Linked DNA regions of Homo sapiens: region 1 is linked to region 2. Evidence: promoter capture Hi-C in 16 types of primary human blood cells and fetal thymus (Javierre and others, 2016). All regions are on one chromosome and are shown on one strand. Each heading gives the region's core, a stretch centred on a gene start or on the middle of the fragment in contact. The rest is flanking DNA. Distances are from core to core; before and after follow the strand shown. Region 1 holds the start of MZB1 (marginal zone B and B1 cell specific protein). Region 2 has its middle 17 kb from the start of HSPA9.

Region 1 (7,645 bases), core at 5,096-7,595, 800 kb after region 2:
AGGTGAGCGGAGAAAGAGGGAGTGGAAACAGGCACTTATTATGTAACCCCCTGTATGAGGCCCTTCCCCACTGATTAATAACTAGTTCATCATTATCATCATCATCATAGTCATTCTCGTTATTGAGGAATGGCCTTGGCCTTGTGCCAAGAAACATGGATCTGCACTGTCCCAAGTAACCCCTGTGCTGGGCGGTATTAACCCCTTTAACAGCGAAGGAAACAGATTCAGTAGATGTGATTTGACCCAAGCCATGCAGATAGCAAGTTTGCAGAAACCAATCCTAAAATTCAGGTTGGTCTGAGCTGCCTTGCCCTCACCACCCTGCACCCCTCAGGGTCCCTGAGGCAGGCAGCAGATGGGCCTCTGCAGGCAGAGCTGCCTAGGCTGGCCCAGCCGGGTCTGCACTCTGTGTCAGGGCACAGATCCCTTTCCCCTCCCAGCCACATAATTTCTGGGACCCAGTGCAAAGTAAGAATGTGAGGCCTTTATTCCAAAAGTATAAAGAATTTAAAGATAGCAGGAGCATTAGATGGAGCGTGGGGCCTTTCTATGCACCAAGCCCTGTGTGACTGCCCATCACCTAGCCCAGGAAGGCAGTCCTATGCCCAGCCTGTCTCCCCTCCTGGCAGGCCCAGCCCAGCCTGGCCCTAGGGCCTGAGATGGCAGAGGGGGACATGGGGAGGGGCCCTAAGAACTCAGGCTCCTCAGCTGGTGAGGGCTGGGCCTGAGGTCCCCATTCTGTTCCCCTCTGGGCTGCCCCAGCCCCAGCACTCTAGAGCCCACCTACTTCTGGGTCGCTGTGCCCATGGCCAGGCCCTGCCTGAAGGGCCAAGGGGCAGCACCGCTCTCCAGCTGGGCAGCAGCTTCATGCCACAGCACTGAGTCCGCCCGCCTGCCGGTGTCCACACTGTTCCTCTGTCCGCCTGTCCTCTCCTCTCCCTCTTGGCTACTGCTCCCAATTTCCAAAGTTGCTGGACCAGTTTGAAGCCTCTGCAACTCCCCAGCACTTTTCTCTCCAACTTCTCCTCCCAGAACTCCCCAGGGTGCTGTGGAGACCAAGCCCGACCCCCTGCAGATACGGCTCCATGGACACTCAATTCAACCCAAACCACACAACACGCATAGAGAACAAGGTGGAGAACACGGTCCCAGATCCACAGTAGCATGAAGGGGCCCACACACCCAGAGCTGATGCAGCCTCTCTAATCACCCCACAGAAACACAGGTCCACGTCATGGGTGCCCGGCTCCACACCCTGTCCTGAAAGCTTAGTGGGTTTCTTGGGCCCTGACTTTCCTCCTGGTGTCTAGGGTTTCTCTCCTGAGTGAAGGCCACGGATGGTGGGGCTTCAGGCAGGTCCTGGAACAGGTGAAGGATGGAGGGGGCTGAGTGCAGCTCCCAGGGAAGCTGGAGTGGCCAGGGCCTGCCCCAGGCACCTCCATTCCCCCAGCAGCCCGCCTCTCCGGTCCCCTAAGTCTGAATCCCCTCCCAGCCCTACTACTACTCAGCCAGGGACTTGGCCCAAACCCCTTCTGTTGTCTAAGTTTCGGTTTCTGCATCTGTCAAAGGGGGATTAGATTGTCTTCCTGCACATGGCTCTCGTGCAAAATAAAAATATTTCTAAAAATGAGGGTTAGAATGTTCTGTCTCTCTCCCAGGGCTTGGCCAGATCAGAGACACTCACAAACGAAACTGAAAGTTCTGGTGCCACCGATCTCCAGTTCCCAGACCTAGGTGGGGTCCAGGGCTTCTTTACTAAGGAAAAGCCCCAGCCAGAAGAATTTCCAGAGAAAGCAGGACTGAGAACCAAAATGTTGAATCTGGCTGGTCAGAAACCCAGGGCCCATCCATACCAGCTGGGGTCAAAGGCAGAGTGTGGAAAATGAACAGCCATTGGGTGTAGACCCAGTGAGACGTGTGTTCTCGGAGGGGTGCAGATAGCATGGAGTGGCTGGAATAGGTGTGCCACAAGGTGGCCTGCGTGCACAGTTTTCCTTGGTTCTCTTTTCTCATGAAGGCTCTGAAGACCTGGGATGTCACTGAAACCACCTTTGCAAAATTATGACTGAGACAGTGAAAGAGATCTAACTTAATCAGTTCCATCTTGCTTCTAACCTCCAAGTTGTCTTTCTTCATTCCTGAGTGTAGGCTGAACTAACCTTGGGAGAAACTTAGTTTTTAGTTTATAGTCTAAAACAAAGACAATAACAGCCCTTTCTCAAAGCAGACCTCCTTCTTGCCTGAGGACTAGATTGCCTTTGTAGGATGGAGCAACATTAGCCACAAGATGAGAAATTTTGGTTTAGGAGTCATGCAGCTAGAGGTTACAAGATTCTGACCCTCTCTAAACTGCTCCTAAGATCAGTGCTTGAGATACTTTGCAGACCCTGCACTTGATAGATCAGCTGGCATCACCCAGATCCATAAATTGGCTCGTTGGGACTTGTGGCCTCCACCTAGGAACTGACTCAAGGCAAGGAGACAGCTTCAACTCCCTATGATTTCAGTCCTGACCAATCAGCACTCCTGGCTCACTGGCTTCCCCGCCATCCACCAAGTTGTCCTTAAAAACTCTGCTCCCTGAATGCTTGGGGAGACTGATTTGAGTAATAGTAAAACGCTGGTCTCCTGCACAGCCAGCTCTGCGTTAATTAGTCTTTATTGCAATTCCCCTGTCTTGAGCAATCGGCTCTGTCTAGGCTTGAGCAAGGTGAACCCTTTGGGCGATTACATCACCACACCATTGATGGCTCCCTCTTACCTCTGGAAGTTGTAGGGATGCAAATTTGGCCTTCTGTAGGAGGGATGTAATATTGTGAAATATATATTTGGTCTTTGACCTCTGTTTCCTGGAGTACAATTTCTAAAATCTTAGAATCCCCAAAATGATGTCTTCTTGTGTGCTAATGATTGACTGATGGCTGGCAGCCCCTAGGGTAGCTTCAGGACAGGGGCTGGTCACCAGAGAGACCAAGGCAGGATTTCAGCCTCCCCTCACCCCCCATCCCCAGTCAAGGGAGGGCAGACAGGTTGGAGGGTAAGTTGTTCGCCAATGGCCAATGGCTTAATGAATCATACCTACGTAATGAATTATCCACAGAAACTCAAAATTGCAGGGTTCAGAGATCTTCTGGATAGCTGAACACGTGGAGGTTCCTGGACGGTGTTGCATCCATGGAGGGCATGGAAGCTCCGAGCCCATTCCCCATACCTTGCCCTACACATCTCTGCATCTGTATCCTTTGTAACATCCTTTATAATAAACTGGTAAACGTTTCTCTGAGCTCTGCGAACCACTCTAGCAAATTAGTTGAACTCAAAAGAGGGGGTTGTGGGAACCTCATCTTGAAGCCAGTAGGCCAGAAGCTCCAGAGGCCTGGAGTTGGAACTGGTGTCTGAATGGGGGACAGAATGGTGGACTGAGCCCTCAGCCTGTGGGATCTGACACTATCTCCAGGTAGATAGTGCCAGAATTGAATTTTGGAGGGCACCCAGCTGGTGTCAGCTGCAGAATTGCTTGCCTGGTGTGTGGGGGAAAGCCCCCACGCATTCGGTCACAGCCATCTTCTGTGCTGTTGTCGAGTGAGAGAATAGAAAAAGCATTTTGAAGGCCGGGCGCGGTGGCTCATGCCTGTAATCTCAGCACTTTGGGAAGCCAAGGCGAGCGGATCACCTGAGGTCAGGAGTTCAAGACCAGCCTGGCCAACATGGTGAAATCCCGTCTCTACTAAAAATACAAAAATTAGCCGGGCATGATGGTGGGTGCCTGTAATCCCAGCTACTCAGGAGGCTGAGGTGGGAGAATCGCCTGAACCTGGGAGGTGGAGGTTGCATCGAGCCAAGAACACTGCACTCCAGCCTGGGTGACAGAGTGAGACTGTCTCAAAAAAAAAAAATTGATTTTGAGAGTTTTTTTTTTTTTTTCACAAGGGACATCAGCAGAAACACCAATGTCTGCACTCCCAGCCCCACAAGCACCTTTTGCAGAGAAAAGAAGTGAGGTCACTGGGTTTTATTTGAGTCCAGAGGGGAAGGCGTTGACTCCCACCCAGGCCCGAGTGCCCTGAGGCTGGAGGAGGGAGGCAGGATGGCAGCACAGAGCAAGGGCTTCCTGCCCTCCTGGCTGCCTGCAGACGGGAGTGGAGACCGTCAGAGCAAGCCCCAGCTTCTTTCAGAGGAGGGTAGAGTCCAGGACTAGAGCTCTTCTCTTGTGGCTGACACCTTCTCTGAGCAGGCCCCCTGGGGTCCCCCACATAGCAATGCCTCCAGAGCCCCTCGGCCTTGTTGGTGGGCTTCATAGATCTGGTCTTCTCCAAACTCCCCCAAGTAGTGCAAACATGTCCTGGAGAGCCTAGGGGAGCCCAGCAGGAGCCTCAGATGCTGCCCAGCCCACAGTGGGGCAAACCAAGGCTCCAGGAGCTTCATCCTATCCCCAAGCCCCGGGCATCACCTGGTAGGCCAGGGGCCCCCTGTGACCATCACGCTGATGCTTGGCTCTGGCCCCTCGCTAAGTCCTGGGCCTGTGAGACGTTTCACTTGGTCCACTTCTCGAACTCCGTAGCTGGTGGCAGTGGAGAGGAGAGGAGTACAGTTTTGGCAGGAGCCCAGCCAGGGAGAGACCCATCTCCACAGCAAGCTGGACATGCTGGGCATTTGTGGAATTCAGAGAGGGAAAGCCCCTGGCCCAAGGTCACAAGGTGACCTTGTCCACTGGCCCTCTGCTCTCCCACTTGCTCTCAGCTCCAGAGCCCAGACTTCATCCCAGCCAGCCCCTCCCTTGGACCAGAGTCCTAGAGGAGTGTGTGTGTTGTGTGAGCGGCTGAGTGGGAATCTCCACCCACCAGGCCTGCCCTTGGAGGAGGGAGGTGGGGGGCAGGATTGGCAACTCACTCCTGCCAGTTCCGGGAGCAGCTCCGGTCCAGGACATCCGTGTAGACCAACTCGCTCAGCTCCCGCCGCCCCCCAGAGTTTGAGGTATGAAGTTTGGTCTCTGCCTTTGCCAGATTTTGCCACATCTGGAACAAGGAGGGACTGGGAGGCAGGGCCTCAGGACTGCTGCTCAGTTAGGGGGAGGTGGGGAGGATAGGAGCAGAGTCTCTGGGGAAAATAAAGTGGCAAGAGAGCCGTTTGAGCAGGAAGCACCTGTGAGGCTGTTGCATGGCCCCTCCCCCAGCCCCCAAAGCTCTCTGGGATGGGGATGGGGGATGGGAAAGAAATGCTGAAGTGGTAGGTGAGGCCTGGGCACTGGGGTCCCTCGTCCAGGGCACACCTGCCCAGTGGCAAGTGTCATTTTATTTTTATTTATTTATTTATTTAGAGAGAGTCTCACGCCGTTCGTCGCCCAGGCTGGAGTGCAGTGGTACGATCTCAGCTCACTGCAGCCTCCACCTCCCAGGTTCAAGTGATTCTTCTCCCTCAGCCTCCCAGGTAGCTGGGACTACAGGTATGTGCCACCACACCCGGCTAAAATTTTGTATTTTCAGTAGTGACGGGGTTTCACCATGTTGGCCAGGCTGGTCTCGAACTCCTGAGTTCAGGCGATCGGCCCCGCTCAGCCTCCCAAAGTGCTGGGATTACAGGCGTGAGCCACCGCGCCCGGCCGGCACGTGCCATTTTAAACCACAAGAGCAAGGTAAGAAAAACTGGAGCCCAATATTCAATCACACAAGTACTCCCAGGCCCCCACCTCACAGAGACACTGGCACGCAGGCATGCTCAGCAGGTGTGTGTGTGAAGCCAGACACACGCATACTCACGTGCAGGCGCTCACACGTGTGCACTTGCACCATGTACACATAGCCAAAGCCGCCCCGTCAGGGTTGGGGAGGGAGTCCGGACTCAAGGATGGGCCTGGAAAGGGAGAAGTCTAAGGACAAGTGAGTGATTCCCTGGGGTCTCAAAATACTGAGGAGGTCTCCCAGATTGTCTGCTGTTAGGCAGGCAGATGGGTAAACTGAGGCATGGAATATATGAAAGGCTGCATCTGTGGCTTGATGCCCAGTGGTAGGGATTGGGGATCAAAGGCCGGTGGTGGAATGTGAGGTGGGTGGAGGGGTCTGGCTTGAGAAGGGGTGTGAGCAGGGCAGGGTGACAGTGGTGAAGGACTCACCTGGTAAGCCACAGCTCTGCAGGCATCACAGCGCAGGTGAGCGGGCATGTGGGCTGAGTACATCTCCTCATCATCCAGTTGTGGGGCTGTGGCTGTGAGTGGCGCCCTGTCCCCGAGGCCCCCTGGGATGGCCCAGGCTCCCAGCAGCAGCAGCAGCAGTGGCAGTGACAGCCTCATGGCCCCAGGAGCCAGTTCAGCAAGTGTAGTCTGTGGTTGAGGTGCAGATGTGTGTGTGCTTGTGTGGTGTGGGGACCGCCACAGAACACCTGGCCTAGACCAATGGGGAACTGACACCTCACCCCTCCCATCCTCCTCCCACTCCCTCCTCCAGGGCCCCGAAGATGCCACGTGGGCATTGTCCTCTAGCTGGACCCTGGCTCCAGCCATCTCAGCTCCATTTCACAGATAGGGAGCACTGAGGCAAGGAGAGGGGCTGGGCCTAGGCAGGAACACATAGGGGCCGATACTGCCCACATCCTGTGATCTGGCCAAGTGGCAGGCACTGTGCTGAGTGCCTTGTGGGAAGAGTTGGTTGGCTGCCGTCATCTTTTTTTGTTTCATTGACCTTTCTGAGAAATGAGACTGTCATGTTTATTCTGCCTCTTCCGACACAAAGGCTCAGAGAGAGGTGACAAATCCAAGGCCACATAGCTAGAGGGGCCATGCTGAGAAACCCAAGCCTGATTGACCCCAAGGCTCCCTGGCCACTCAACCACCAGAAGGAATGAGGTGTGGCTGCCAGCCTCCTGGGAGGCAAGTTCAGGGAGACAGGGATGCTACAGTGTTTCCAAGACACACATGGTCTCCTTCCCTAGCCCTGAGGTCCCCTCCACCCAGGCCATACCCAGGCGTGGAAGGGCACTGTGGAGGGTGTTGAGAGGCTGTGGCAGGAAATCAGGCACCTCACACCAGTTATTTCAGCCATGATGGCTCCATGGTCAGTGATTTATTACACACCAGGATGAGGTAAAGACACCTGGGGTGGCCCCAGGGCCCTCCATGCCATCGGAGCTGGCATCTCCAGCTAGAAAATGGCCAGTTGTTCTGATTCGTAGCTCTCCTAGTCAGCTTCCAGTCCAGGGCAGAGGGCAGGGACTGCTAGGGACCTGGGCCCCCTGACAGGCCTGGAACAACGAAGGCATCCATCCCCATCCCTGCCACTGCTTCTCATGGAAACTGTCCTTCCCAAACTCATCACATCACACACCAGGCTGGCAAGGGCCAGCCATTTCCGGTTCAGAACTATATACAGACCCCCACGCACACCACCTCCCACCTCATGCAGACCCCCCTCATCTCCCTCAGAGGCTCCTGGAATCTCAGGGCAACTGAAGTGCAGGCTCTGGGCCCTGTCCCTTGCTGTGACTGGTCTGTAGGGCCAGCCCCTCTCTGGCCATTGTTGCCACATCTGTTACTGGGGAGTGGAACCTGCCAAGAGCTTCAGATCCCTCTGGATACTCCACCAGGGGTATCGCTTCTACTGCTGGCCCTAACCCACCTTCTGGCCACACAGAGGGGTCAAGAGGCTCCTGT
Region 2 (7,007 bases), core at 4,149-6,648:
GGGGTCCTATCTCCTAGATATACCATGAGGCCAGGCCTCTCTAGGGTCTTGCTCCCTTCTTAGGTGCTGTCATGCCAGGGATCAAGGCCTGGGTTCCCTTGTTCCAGGACCTACAAACATTCTCATTCCTGACCCCAAAGCATCTCTTTCTAGTCTGCTTGAAGTACCTTCCTGCATCATGCTGCTCTGAGGCCAATTTCCTTAAGTTCTAGGCTCTGTCTTGTTCTTCTACAGTGGTCTTTGATGGTCTTTTTATTTTTTACTTTTATTTTTATTTATTTTTGAGAGACAGTGTCTCACTCTATCACCCAGGCTGGAGTGCGGTAGCATGATCACAGTTCACTGCAGCCTTAACCTCCTGGGCTCAGGTGATCCCCCTGCCTCAGCCTGCCAAGTAGTTAGGATTACAGGCATGTACTACAATGGTTGGCTAATTAAAAAAACTTTTTGTAGGCTGGGTGCGGTGGTTCACACCTGTAATCCCAGCACTTTGGGAGGCGGAGGCAGGCAGATCACTTGAGGCCAGGAGTTTGAGACCAGCCTGGCCAACATGGCGAAACCCCGTCTCTACTAAAAATACAAAAAAAAAAAAAAAAAAAAAAAGCTGGATGTGACAGCGCCATGCCTGTAGTGCCAGCTACTTGGGAGGCTGAGGCAGGGGAATCGCTTGAACCTGGGAGGCGGAGGCTGCAGTGAGCAGAGATTGCACCACTACACTCCAGCCTTGGCGACAGAGTGAGGCCCTGTCTCAGAAAATTCTTTTTTTTTTTTTTTTTTGTAGAGACAGGGACTCACTCTGTCTGTCACCCAGGCTGGTCTCCAACTCCTGGGCTCAAGTGATCCTCCTGCCTTGGCCTGCCAAAGTGCTGGGATTATAGGTGTGGGCCACTGCACCTGGCCTTTTGATGGCCTTTTAAATCCCAAACCCATGTCACTGCAGCCATGTATTGGTTATGGTTTACCTTTTGGTGCATGTTTCTACTTTCCTCATTTAGATTTGTGAACCTTCTCGGGGCAGAGACTACCACTTTCTTGTATCCTGAGTCACCACAGGGCTTTTCATAGTGTGGGGGGCACTTATTAAATATTGATTAATTATGATAATGACGAGGACACAGGACTGTTTGTGAGCACACACAGCCCTGCCACACAGTGAGAATCAGGAAGATGAAGGGAAGAAGGGGCCAGGTTCATTATTGTCATATAATCATGAATATTTCACTGGTTTGTATCACCAAGGAGTAGCCTGTTTGTCCTGCTGCCAGCACAGGAGGAAGCATTTGCCCTGATAATGATGAACAAATTTCCTTGATCGAGTCCATGGGCCAGAGCTCCTCTGGGTGCTGGTCAGGCTGGCTTTGCCCTTCTTTGGCTTCTTCACAGGCTGTCTTGCCCGGCTCTCAACAATAGATTTCTCTGTCACGAATACAAACTAGCCAGGCCCTCTTGAACAAATCAACCTCCCCGACACCTGCTCAGAGCAATTAGCCTTCCAATGTGCTATGGTTAATAAACACGAATGGTTGTTATCTGCTTTTCCTTGGCTGGTCCTATGAGTGTCCTCACACAAATAGGCAGTTTGACCAGAGACCAGCTCCAACTCATACTTGGGTCAGAGAAATGGAACCCGGAACCCTCCTGCCTCAGCCTTCGGGGCTTCATGGATACTCCCTTACCTCAGCCTGCTGTGACCTCATGCCAGCCCCTCTCTGGCCTCCATTTGGATTCATCTGGTGATAAAAAATGAGCAGAGGAGATACCAGTATCATCTGGGTGGTGGGACTAGATGACCTTTAAATCCTGTGACTGCCCATCCTGCAAGTCTTTGATTCTATACTTTCCACTTGCTTGGTTTTTTTTGGAGACGGAGTCTCACTCTGTGGCCCATGCTGGAGTGCAGTGGTGCGATCTTGGCTTGCTGCAACCTCTGCTTCCCGGGTTCAAGCAATTCTCCTGTCTCAGCCTCCAGAGTAGCTGGGACTACAGGAGCTGGCCACCACGCCCATCTAATTTTTGTATTTTTAGTAGAGACAGGGTTTCGCCATGTTGGCCAGGCTGGTCTCGAATTCCTGACCTCAGGTGTTCTGCCCACCTCAGCCTCCCAAAGTGCTGAGATTACAGGCATGAGCCACTGCTCCTGGCCCACTTGCTTGTTCTTAATCAACATTTAAAATCCCCCAAAGGCCGGGAGCGGTGGCTCATGCCTGTAATCCCAGCACTTCAGGAGGCTGAGGAGGGCAGATCACCTGAGGTCAGGAGTTCGAGCCTGGCCAACATGGTAAAACCCCATCTCTACTAAAAATACAAAAATTAGCCGGGCGCGGTGGCACTCGCCTGTAATCTCAGCTACGTGGGAGGCTGAGGTAGGAGAATCGCTTAAACCTGGGAGGCGGAGGTTGCAGTGAGCCGAGATGGTGCCATTGCACTCCAGCCTGGGTGACAAGAGTGAAACTCTGTCTCAAAAAAAAAAAAACAAAAAAAAACCCAGAGTTGGGTGTGGTGGTGCACACCTGTAGTGCTGAGAAGAGGATCACTGGAGCCCAGGAGTTCAAGGCTGTAGTGTGCAATGATGGTGTGCCTGTGAATAGCCACCACACTCCAGCCTGGGTGACATAGTGAGATCCATTCTCTTAAAAAAGAAAAAAATCTCCCAGCTTCCTGCTGGTCCCTTCAACCTCCTTATATCGGCAACCCTTCCTTGATAGATTCACTGCAGCAACACGGGCCTTCTTTCGGGTCCTTGAAGTGTTGCTTCTGCACTTCCATAGGCCCTCACTTCTCCCTAGATCACTTTCTCCCCACCAGCCAGTTGTCTAACCCTATTTAGCCTTCAGGTCCCAACATAAATGTCACTTGTATAGGCAAGCTTCTCCAGCCCCCAGAATAGATTAGATTCCTAAGGCCTAGGCCAGTCCTGCATATTATCTTCCACAGCACTGTCTACACCTATAATACTTTTTTTTGTTTTTTGAGATGGAGTCTCACTCTGTCGCCCAGGCTGGAGTGCAGTGGTGCAATCTCGGCTCACTGCAGCCTCTGCTTTCCAGGTTCAAGTGATTCTCCTGCCTCAGTCTCCTGAGTAGCTGGGATTACAGGCACCTGCCACCATGCTCAGCTAATTTTTGTATTTTTAGTAGAGACGGGGTTTTGCCACGTTGGGCATGGTGGTCTCAAACTCCTGACCTCAGGTGATCTGCCCACCTTGGCTCCCAAAGTGTTGGGATTACAGGCGTAAGCCACTGTGCCTGGCCTATAAGCTACTTTTTAGTAAAAAATTATTTAGTATTTATCTTCTCTAGTGTTTTGATTCTTCATGTATGCAGGGACTATGTCTGTTTTGTTCAAATTTTTATTGCCAAAACCTGGCCCAACATCTGACACCTAGGAGCTGTTCAGTAAACATTCATCGATTGGCCGCCTGCTTGCCATCTCAATCATGAAGTTGCCCTGCTGTTCATTCATGTATTGGTTTAATGTTGTTTCTCTATTGTTTATATGTTTATGCTTGTCTGTTTAATGTTAACTGTCTTAAGTAGTACATTTCTAAGGGGCTAGAATCCATGTATAGAATTTTCTTTGTATGGTGTTTTGTATGTGGGTGTAAGCGTATGTATCTCATTCCCCAACTGTAGGGAAAGAATGAGGAGGTATTGAGAGGCCGAGGCAGGCAGATCACCTGAGGTCAGGAGTTCGAGACCAGCCTGGCCAACATGGTGAAACCCCGTCTCTACTAAAAATACAAAAATTAGCTGGACGCGGTGGCACGTGCCTGTAATCCCAGCCACTGGGGAGGCTGAGGCAGGGGAATCCCTTGAACCTGGGAGGCGGAGGTTGCAGTGAGCCAAGATTGTGCCACTGCACTCCGGCCTGGGCAACAGGGTGAGACTCTGGCTCAAAAAAAAAAAAAAAAAAAAGAGGTAAAATTGAGAAGATGGCAGCAAGTGTTACCATGGAGGAGACTCTGAAACTCAGTCGAGATGACTTCTGAGTCCTTATGGTATTCCTGAAGATGGGCAGGGTTGGGGGCAGGACTGAGGGAGTTTTATGATGTTGTTAAAAGTGGCTGTACTCAGAACTGTGCTATATACTGCAGAGTAACAGGAGGAGGGAAGAGAGAGTCTTCAGGAAATGAAGAAGAAAGAGGAGAAGTGGGCTGAGCTGGAAGCCTCATTTTCCACAAGGACACTGAAACATTGTTAAGCCAAGGAGAACTGTTAGCTCTGACAATAGCTCCTCTTCTTATGAGTCCTTTGGTGTTTTAATTATTTTTAAAATAAAGATTGAAGAACAACTTTTATAACTGCAACTGGAACAATGACAAGCAGTACTGATGGGGTATAATCATAACAGAAACTTTGTTTTCAGCTCCCACTGTTTCTTCTTTTCTTTTTTTTTTTTTCAAGACAGAGTCTTGCTCTGTTGCCGAGGCTGGAGTGCAGTGGTGTGATCTTGGCTCACTGCAATCTCTGCCTCCAGGGTTCAAGCAATTTTCTTGCCTCAGCCTCTTGAGTAGCTGGGATTACAGGTGCCTGCCACCATGCCCAGCTATTTTTTTTTTTTTTAGTAGAGACGGGATTTCGCTGTGTTGGCCAGGCTGGTCTCGAACTCCTAACCTCAAGCAATCTGCCCACCTCGGCCTGCCAAAGTGTTGAGATCACAGGCGTGAGCCACTGCGCCTGGCCCCACTGTTTCTTTAAACCTGCTTTGTAGTGATGGTCTTAAGTGTGCTCCTGGACAAATACTTTTCAGGATCCCTTGGAGGTGTTAGGAAGCCTTATAGCCACTGTACGCAGTACAGCATGATTTCAATTAGGCACTTAAAATGTTCAGCTTGGTATTATCAATGTTTCTGCTTGGTTTTCGAAGCTTAAGCTATTTGCTATTTGTCCTTCCTATCTGGGGCCTGCTGCAAATGAAAAGAAAGGGTGTAGTCTTTCTCTTCTGAAGTTTCTGATCCTTCTAGAATTAGAGCACAAGAAACTAAGAGGCGACAGAAAATATGGTACTTGTCTCATGTCAAAGCTGGCTTTGCACTCTCCTACCTCCCAGTGTGGCCAGTGTTTAAATCTAGCTTTCTCATAAAGCACTTTTGTGGGTTCTTCAGAGATCTGCGCACACACACACACACACACACACACACACTGCTGCTGCTGCTGCTGCTGCTGCTGCTGCTGCTGCTGCTGCTGCTGCTGCAGCAGTTCCCAGTGGCCTGGGCAAGTGGACTCCCCTCTTGTCAGTTGCTTTCGCCCTCTCCAGACCCTCATAATGTAACAGTCCATTTCCAGTTTCTCTTCTGCTCAGGCCTGTTTGCCCTCTGACATTCCTATTGGTCAGGATCTAAAATGCTCTCCAAAACATCCCCCTATGCATGTGCCCCACCTCAGGTCTGTGAGAAACAGGTTTTTGCCCACACAAGCTCTGAACAAATCCCAGCATCACAAAGCAGCTGCTAGCACATATGGTGGCTTCTACATTTTTTTGGGCTGGAGTCAGAAATTAGACCACTCTGTCCTGCTAACTGCAGGAGAAGACACATATCAAACTCTCCTAGGAGTCTCTTCCAAGCTCTTCTCATTAGGCTTGTAGTGAAACACAGGTATCCTCTTTCTTTTGGAGGGGGTACCCATAGCACACGAATACTTTGCACCGAATAAATCCTTTTCAGAAACATTCTCTTAATATCCAACAATTTCTTTTTCCCCTTGATAGGGGTGAAAATTTGAGAGTCCCATAAGTGATTGTCAACTGTTTCCTATGAAAATTTGCATCATTGCTGGCGCCTCACTTTGGTATGACATGGGTACTGCATATTGGAGCCTTACTGAAATTTCCAAATAACACAATGTCATCAAACAAGGGATTTCAGGAACCAAGTGGTTATTTTCTGAGTATAGGTAGGTAATATTATTGTTCTCCTGTCTTCTCTCAAGGAAGCTTAATTGTTCTCATCTCTAAAGTGGGCCCTCATCCTTTCCTTGCTCAGTAAGAGCAGTAAGAAATCTTGAGGATAAAGATGACTCTGCATGGACCACAGGCCCTTGGGAATAGTTAAGTAATCTACAGAGGAAGCCTCTTTCATAAAGAAGGCAAGTAGAGGTGAAGGGCATGATGGAAAGAAGAAAACGCTAATTTCATTAGTGTTTTTCTGATCCCACCCCTACCTCGGTTTGGAGCTGTCCTCTTGTTGTATGAAGGTCTCTATTATAGCCCCCAAAGCAATGCTTATGCACAGCACAGCCAGTGGCTACTGGGCTGCCTTCCCTAACTCCTGTCAGAGAGATCAACAATCCTTGGCTCAGTGTTTCCCTGGCGTATTTGTATCTGTGTCTATGGGTTTAAGGTGGGAGGGGTAGATGTCATCGCCTTTGACAAAATGGCTGAATATCTTTACTTTATCATGATGAAAAGACTTCTTGGTCTTCCAGTTCAGAGCCAGAGCCTGCCTTGCAAGGAATTCAAAGGCTCTGATCTGGAGCTGCTGTCAAGCCAGCAGATGGAGTCACAGTCCTCTGTGTGCTGCTGGGCCTACCTGGGCTGGTGTGCAATGTGATGCTGGGCCCAGCTCTGCAGCCAGAGGGGACAGGGAAATGAATAAAAATGATGGCACCTCATTGCCATAACTGTTGTTCTGACTGCACAGGAGTTTGATAAAATATGCTCCTGGGGAGGTTGCTTTCTTGTATCTCTCTGGAATCACTGCAGAAGCAACTGTAAGGAGTGAGTGCTCGGATTCCTGAGACAACTGTAGGGCATGGGGCAGGGAAGATGCAGAGATGACAGAACCAAGTCCTGGGCAGTGGAGGAATATGGCACAATTCGCTCACCCCTGCAAAACCTCATGGGGGAACAGGGATACAACCAGTGGCTCTTGGAGAAAGGGCAGCCCTAAGAGGAAAGTTTAGACAATGATGGTGAATTACCATCTGCTTGACTCTCCTCTGTCTGAATTGCAAGCACTGGAGTCCCTTTTACTAACATCTGTAGACTGCTTAGGAAATTTGCTTTGG

The links. The method cuts DNA at HindIII sites, captures the fragments that hold promoters and counts their contacts. A CHiCAGO score of 5 or more calls a contact.
Region 1: the fragment with the promoter of MZB1 here is called in contact with a fragment that was not itself captured in region 2 in 1 of 17 cell types (erythroblasts); the score reaches 5.7 in erythroblasts.

The regions. Positions count from the first base shown.
Region 1 is chr5:139,383,568-139,391,212 of GRCh38, forward strand. MZB1 (marginal zone B and B1 cell specific protein) reads right to left here and starts at 6,346. Exons shown (of 4, transcript NM_016459.4): 1 at 6,113-6,346; 2 at 4,894-5,018; 3 at 4,454-4,564; 4 at 3,900-4,354. The coding sequence starts at 6,289. The coding sequence ends at 4,198. PROB1 (proline rich basic protein 1) reads right to left here. Exons shown (of 1, transcript NM_001161546.2): 1 at 7,025-7,645. It also overlaps a transcript of SLC23A1 not described here. RefSeq lists enhancers at 341-410, 431-600, 5,031-5,578, 5,579-6,126, 6,103-6,512 and 4 more and a silencer at 7,483-7,532. The HindIII fragment of the contact is 10,488 bases long and covers 1,269-7,645 here.
Region 2 is chr5:138,589,092-138,596,098 of GRCh38, forward strand. No RefSeq gene overlaps it. Among named protein-coding and RNA genes, the nearest start is that of HSPA9, 17 kb to the left of the region's middle. The HindIII fragment of the contact is 1,068 bases long and covers 4,865-5,932 here.